Regions from separate parts of the Homo sapiens genome. Here region 1 is linked to region 2. Evidence: promoter capture Hi-C in 16 types of primary human blood cells and fetal thymus (Javierre and others, 2016). All regions are on one chromosome and are shown on one strand. Each heading gives the region's core, a stretch centred on a gene start or on the middle of the fragment in contact. The rest is flanking DNA. Distances are from core to core; before and after follow the strand shown. Region 1 has its middle 32 kb from the start of OTOS. Region 2 holds the start of GPC1 (glypican 1).

The links. The method cuts DNA at HindIII sites, captures the fragments that hold promoters and counts their contacts. A CHiCAGO score of 5 or more calls a contact.
Region 1: a fragment that was not itself captured here is called in contact with the fragment with the promoter of GPC1 in region 2 in 1 of 17 cell types (M2 macrophages); the score reaches 6.0 in M2 macrophages.

What each region holds. Positions count from the first base shown.
Region 1 is chr2:240,171,172-240,174,574 of GRCh38, forward strand. No RefSeq gene overlaps it. Among named protein-coding and RNA genes, the nearest start is that of OTOS, 32 kb to the left of the region's middle. The HindIII fragment of the contact is 4,278 bases long and covers 1-3,403 here.
Region 2 is chr2:240,433,339-240,437,234 of GRCh38, forward strand. GPC1 (glypican 1) reads left to right here and starts at 2,325. Exons shown (of 9, transcript NM_002081.3): 1 at 2,325-2,746. The coding sequence starts at 2,581. RefSeq lists enhancers at 694-988, 1,388-1,964, 3,698-3,896 and silencers at 1,794-2,453, 2,514-2,573. The HindIII fragment of the contact is 5,949 bases long and covers 1-3,669 here.

The DNA of each region.
Region 1 (3,403 bases), core at 495-2,994, 260 kb before region 2:
CATGATAGGATGATAAGGGCTGCTCCCCTAACACAGGCATTGACCATTTCAGTCTTTACCTACCAATCTCCTTGCATCTTAAATATATTTCTTCCATCTCTTCCTGTGATGTCCTCTTGTAGGAGAGTCTGTTCTGTAGAACACATCAGCGAACCAAGCCTTGGCTGAGGTTCCAGTGCTATGGGAGACTGCTGGGGACTGAGTCCCTGGCTCCACTGCACCCTGGGCTTATTTGAGTTGGGTTGTGCCCTTGACAGCCCCCATGGGAGGCAAGAGGGGTCAGCTTTCCATGCTGTAAACAAATGACCACAAATGTGGTACTTATAACACCACCACTTATTCTCTTCGTTTCTGTAAGTAGACATTCCAGGCATGGCTTAGCAAGGTCCTCTGCAGAGGGTCTCACAGGATGCAATCTGGGGTCACCTGGGCTGTGTTCTCATCTGCAGGCTCAACTCAGGAAGGACATGCTTCCAACTCCTGCAGGTTGTCAGCAGGATTCAATTCCTGTGCCTGTGGACTGCATGGCAGCTGCTCTTTTAAAGCCACAGGAGAATCTCTCACTCGACTCTGCAAAGACGCTGGAGTCTTACACAATTGCAGAGTGACGCCCAGCACCCATGTCACATTGTGTGACCTAGAAGCAAGCCACAGTCTCCACCACTCTCAAGAGGAGCAGATTATACAAGTTACCACTCACTGGGGGTCACTTTAGGCTGTGTGACATGCAGTGATTAAAATAAAGGGGCATTTTTAGCCAGGAAGGACAGGCAGAATTTAACGCCAGCCATGAAAAAGGTGGCTGGGAGGTGGAGGGAGAGGGGTCTGGAGGGCAGTGGTGAGCAGAGCTAAAAGCTCAAGGTAAAGGAATTTTGACTTGATGGTATAAACAGTGGGAGACAATCATTGTTTCTGAAGTTGCTTTTTTTATTTGAATATTGACATGTAGGTAGGTGGATAATGGGATTGGGCTGACCTCTTGACTTTCCTCAGCTTATAGAACCTCTAAAGGGTGGTCCCCACCCCTGCCCCATCTCCAGTCAGGCCCGTGCAGCGGCCTGACATCCACTGAACAGTTCTCACCAGCATCCTGGCCTGGCCACTTCCTTGGGTAGTCACGTTGTGGCAGTGCCTATGGCTTCAAATTCTCCGGGTGGTCCAAACCTTAGGGAGAATGAGCTGAGCAGGCTGTGGCAGCTGCGCGTCCTAGCCCTTCTGGCATAGAGCCTTCTCATTTGCCCAAGTGAGGCTTCTGTCATAGAATTTCAAGCATCCTTATTGTGGAAGTGTTTAGGTGAATGGGGCTTCCAGAAATTCCCATCACACCGCAGTCAGCTGCCTTGGACTCCTGGCTCCCCCTGGGCTGGCCTCACCTGCAAGGACAACGTCTGTTTGTCTGTTAAACAAAGCATCCTGTGGTACGAGGCCACGCTGTGAGGAGGGCTCTGGAATTTTCACACTTCTCTCCTGGGTGCCCTGTGGAAGAACAGGCGTTCTTTCTGATTCTGAGCTTGTCTTTGGCACACGTGTTTGTCCTGTCCTGGCTAGCATGGTGCAAACTAGTGTTTGCCAAGCGGGAGAGAATACCTGCCAAATGGGAAGTTCAGGGGAGACTGAGATGATTTGAACACTTAGTTTTCATGCATTCTTAAAATAACAGAGGTCTGAGAAACAACAACAAAGTAATCTTCTAGTTCTTAGTGTATTCAAATAAGCTGCTGTATTAGTCCGTTTTCATGCTTCTGATAAAGACATACCCAAGACTGGGTAATTTATAAGGAAAAAGAAGTTTAATGAACTCACAGTTCCACGTGGCTGGGGAGGCCTCACAATCATGGCAGGAGGTGAAAGGCATGTCTTACATGGCGGCAGGCAAAAGAGAATGGGAGACAAGTGAAAGAGGAAACCCCTTATAAAAACATCAGGTCTCTTGAGACTTATTCACTACCACAAGGACAGTGTGGAGGAAACTGCCTCCATGATTCAAGTATCTCCCACCAGCTCCCGCCCATCACACATGGGAATTATGGGAGCTATAATTCAAGATGAGATTTGGGTAGGGACACAGCCAAACCTTATCAGTTGCCTACTTGGAATATTCAGAAGGCCCAGAATAACTGCAAATGTTTCCTTCCCCAATTTGGTGTGTGGGGTTTTCCCCCAAGATGGAAATACTGTTACTATTCAGCGATTATAAACGTAATACATGTTTGAAGTTAAATGTTCAAACTTTACAGAGGTGTATATCATAAAAAAGAAAGTCCTCCACAATTTCCACTCTCATCTAGTTAATCACTATTACAATTATCAACATGTTCTTCTGTGCTTGTACAATTTATTTTATGTACCTGAAACCTGCTTTCTGTATTCGCTCTCTAACCTGTATAATTTACTTAGTACACCTTGGATATCTTCATATGTGTAGAGACAGCATTTTAGGGTTTGTTTTGGCCTCAACTAAACTCGGAGTTGAAATAAATTTAGGAAAGTGGATTTTTAACCTGATTGAGTAAATTCTTTCCTTTTGATTTTTTTTCCTCTTATTAATGTTCAGGTTTGGAGAGAGAGTACAGTTTTACTAAAAATGCATCACAAGTGAGCCAGAAAAATTTCTGATATATTAAACTTTTCTGATTAAATTTTAAAAACTAGTGGAAAGTAATATAATGATAAATGGGCCCCTTCCCACACTTCACTTGCCACCTCCATTTCTGACCTAACAGCGTTGGAAGAAAGGAAGGGGCAATGGGATAAAGGGTGGGCTCTGCTTCAGGCTCACACACGGGGAGGCACTGCTGGTGTTCTGCTTCCTGTCTGCTCAAGGCCCCGGGACAGACTGGGGCTGCTGCAGATGCAGACATCTTGAGCTGTCAGCAGGATGCCCTGTGCTTCACGAGGCCTCCCTAGGATGGGGCCATGGGAACCCATGCATGGAGTCCAGCAGACGTTGAAATAAAGACAACCTTGAGCCTCATTCATGCTGACAGGAAGGTCAATATAAATAAACCCATTTCATCCTTTCTTAACAGTTATATACTATCCCCCTGCGTCAAGGTACATCTTTAGGGATGGCCAAGAAGCGTTTAGTCGGTTATTCTGTTCACTCATTCAACACAGTATACCAGATGTCTAAAAGGTGATAAGCTCTGTTTCAGGCGTTAGGAATGCAGAGGGAACAAACAGGATGAAGGCGTTTCACCTTGTGGAGCTTTTATGAGTGTGTGTGTGTGTGCGCGTGTGTGTGTGTGCATGTGTGTGTGTGTGTGTAGGGGATGACAGCTAAAGAATGAATATAACACGTAGAACATTAGTGGGTGCCGTGGATGAAAATAAAGCAGAAAAGTGAATCAGGAGTGACTGTGTGCGTGTGTGTGTGTTTTGGGAAGGTGAATAGGGATTTTAA
Region 2 (3,896 bases), core at 1,075-3,574:
TCTTGGTCAGAGCCACAAGGGTCACTGTGGTGGCTGGGATTCGAGGCATCAACTATGTCCTCAAACCCATCCACGTGTCCTGTGTGGAGCGGCCCCAGGGACAGCGGTGGAAGAGGGGGCTGATCAGCCTTGCCCATCCTCCCAGAGTCCCAGTCTGGACCCTGCACCCGACTAGCACGGGCAGCCTGGCGGCTCCTGCCCTGGTGACAGCGGGCGTGTGCAGCATTGCCAGGAGGGAAGCAGGGGTAGCTGCAGCTGCTCAGGATCCTGCGGCTCCTCCCAGGTGCAAACACGGCTTTTGCTTCCAATGCCCCCGGCGGCATGTGCATCCTCTCCAGGGAAGGCCCTGGCTACAGGTCTCCTGGCCTGCGGAATGGGAATGATTCCAGGACCTGCGATGGTGGTAAGGACTTCCTTAGGAGATGAAGCCACCCAGGGGTCACCAGGGCCAGGCAGAGGCTGCCACCATCGCGTTCTAAGCCCTGCTGTCCACACTGCCATCCAGAGGCCCAGAACTAGGCTGGAGGAAGGACTTGCCTGGAGGAATAACCCAACCTGGTCAGATTAAGAGGAGGCGTAGACAGTGACGGGGTAACTATAGAGCCTCAGGCCGGGTTAACCTCAAGTCCAGCTTCCTAGGCCCAGGCAGCCCTGCCTGATCCCGCAGTGCGTGAGACCACACAGAGAGAGAGCGGGATCGTGGGCCCAGGCTCCTGACCGTGCTGGATAAGGTGTGCAGGCAGCCACGCCAGGCCCAGGCAAGAAGGAGCAAGCCTGGAGCATGTACTGAACAGGGGTCTGTGAGTCACAAAATGTGACGCAGCAGAGGGTATGTGGGGGAGGGCAGGGAAATGCACACTTGGATTGGGTCCCCAAAGCCTCCCTCTCCAGCAATGACTCAGTGTCTCTGGGTGAAGGAGCAACCTTCTCTGGGAGGCAGGGCAGGAAACCCCAAGAGCCCAGGGGGAGGGCACCCCACCTTCCTGCTCCAGCCCCACACAGCGGCTGAGAGCCCCAGGCACAGAAGGGGTAGGGAATGTTGCCACCACCCCCACCACGGACCCCGCTGCAGCTTCCAGGTGATGCCACAGGCCCTGAAATCAGGACACCCTTGCTGTACATGGGGGTCATCTTGAGGTTCTCTGCCAAGGATACTGACCTCTATGCCTGCCCCCAATTCTGCAGCTCAGGCACCTGGCTTCACCGCCAGGCCTTACCATGTGGAGAACAGGGGGCCGGGGTGGGGGGTCTGGGAGCCAAGGAAGGAGTGAAGCCCTCCAGACACCAACATCGCAGTCCTCGCCCCCTCCCTACAGACCCCATCCAGCCCAACTCCCCATGTGCAGCTAAAGCCACGCGCCCTCCTACCATACAAGGTGCAGGCAGCCCTCCCGCCTTCTTCAAAGAGGCATCTGCTCCGGCTCACTCCACCCTCCTCCCCCAGTGGCCTAACTAGTCGCCGGGTTCCAACCCTATCCCTTCTCCAGAGGTCATCTGGCCCCACCCAGCAGCCCAAACCAGTAGACCGGCCCTGCCCCATCACTTTGGTTTCTCCAGCATCCAAAGAACGTGGAGGGTCACCCCCCCAAAACAGCTGTCAAGGTCCAACAATTAAGCCATCTGTTGCCGCTCCCTGGGACTGGGAGAGGTGAGGTCGAGTTTCTTGGCGAGTTTCCTGCGTGCAGCCCCCACACCACAAAAGCCCCCGGTGCGAGCCGGAGCCCAGCGCGAGACGGCTGGAAGGGCGCGGGGAGGGAGCCGCTGCGGGGTGCAGGCGGGGAGAGGGGCGGCGGCTCGAGGCGCGGCCGGCGGGCGGAGGGTACGGAGGCGCCGGGAGAGCGTTCTCGGGGCGCGCTGCCAGGGTGCAGGAAGCCGGAGCGCGCGGGAGGGAGCGGGGAGCGGGATGCCGATTTCGGCTGGGGGCGGGGAGGCCCCTGATTGGGGCGCGGGAGGCGTGATGTCACGTCCGGCGGGGGAAGCCCTGCCTCGCGCACCCTCCGCCCCCGTCCCCGCCCCCACAGGTGGTGCCACCGCCCTGGGCGCTGGGCGTGGGGGGCCGCCCTCGGGGACCCCGGCCGCGGCCCCGCGCTGCCCGGCTCCGCCGCCTCCCGCCGGGGATCGATAGAGTCGCGCGGCCAGGCGGGCCCTCTGGGTCCCTAAGAGCCAGAGGAGCGCCCAGTGCGCCCCGGCCCGCGCCCCCGCGCCGCGCCCCGCCCCGCCCCGCCCGGTGCTCCCAGTCCCTCCCCCACCCCTGCGCTCCCACCCTGCCCCGCCCCTCTCCTCTCCCGCGGCCGCCTAGGGGCCGGGCCGGCGGCGGGGGAGGCGCCGAGCCGGGACTGCGCTAGCCCGCCGCGCTCTGGGCTGCCCGAGCGAGCGTTCGGACCTCGCACCCCGCGCGCCCCGCGCCGCCGCCGCCGCCGGCTTTTGTTGTCTCCGCCTCCTCGGCCGCCGCCGCCTCTGGACCGCGAGCCGCGCGCGCCGGGACCTTGGCTCTGCCCTTCGCGGGCGGGAACTGCGCAGGACCCGGCCAGGATCCGAGAGAGGCGCGGGCGGGTGGCCGGGGGCGCCGCCGGCCCCGCCATGGAGCTCCGGGCCCGAGGCTGGTGGCTGCTATGTGCGGCCGCAGCGCTGGTCGCCTGCGCCCGCGGGGACCCGGCCAGCAAGAGCCGGAGCTGCGGCGAGGTCCGCCAGATCTACGGAGCCAAGGGCTTCAGCCTGAGCGACGTGCCCCAGGCGGAGATCTCGGGTGAGTGAGGGCGCGGCGCCGGGAACCCGGGCCTGGCCGGGCTTTGGGCTCCGGACCCTGGTCTTCCCGACGCGGCTACTCGCCCCCGGCGCGGGATCCTGCCGCCTGCGCCCCGCCGCCCGGGCCCCGAATGGCTCCCTGCGCTGCGGCTCCTCTGCAACCCCACGGCCCTCGCCTCCAAGCCCCGCGCCGCACTCCCTCGCCAGGGTCTCCTCCGCCCCGCTCGGTCGTCCTCCGCCCCTCCCCGCCCCCCGCACGCCGGCTTCTTCCCTGCGGAGCTGATCTCGCCGGGCTGCGGGCTCGGGGCGCTCCTCCCGGGCCACGGCTGGAGCTGGGCGTCTTCTGCCCGCCGCTCGGCCCAGCGCGCCTGCAGGCCGGGAGTCCCAGCCCCGGGGCCGGCTGTCGGGGCGCTGTGGGGCTCGGCGTGGCCGGGCTTTCGGGGCGCCGCTGACGGTGGCCGCGGACCCCTTCTGCTCTGTACAGACCTCTCTGGGAGGCGTCTCCGGTCCTGCCCGGGGATTCTCGTAGGGTCTCCAGCAAAGGCAGCCTAGGTGGGTTTTATAAGCTGACCCCCTCGGGGGGTAGTGCGGAGGGGTGGGGAGGGAGCTGGGCACTTATCCGCGGGCGGAACGCCGCCGCCTCGTAGAGATTCCTGTCGAAGAACTTGTACGCGCCGGCCCCCGCCTGGCGCTTGGGCAGCCTCGTGCCGCGAGTCCAGCTGCAGGTGGTCGGCGCGTTGGATCCCGCCCAGGGGCCGTGTCATTTCTTTGTAAGAACAGCGGCCCTCTTGGCGCCCCCTAAGCCCTGCAGCCGCCTGCGGCTCTGCCTCTTCCCTCCCTGTGGTCCCGGAGGAGCTTTGGGGACAGAAGTGTACGGGTGGGTGGAACGGTGGGCTCCGTGTGCTAAGGAACTCTTGGAACCCAAGCTTCACCTTTCCACGTGTGGGAACCAACCTCGGTCTGTACCGCGTGCCAGGGACCCAGTGGGCAAGAACAAAACAGACTAGGTTCCTGCTCTGGGGGGCTCCTCTGAAACCAGGGGAGTGGGAGTGCGGGTGGAGGGCTACTCAGATGGGGACTCAGCGCAGAAATGCCCATGGTCCTGGGGATTCTGAGCAAGAAGGATCCGTGCATCTGGGTGAGGGGGGTCT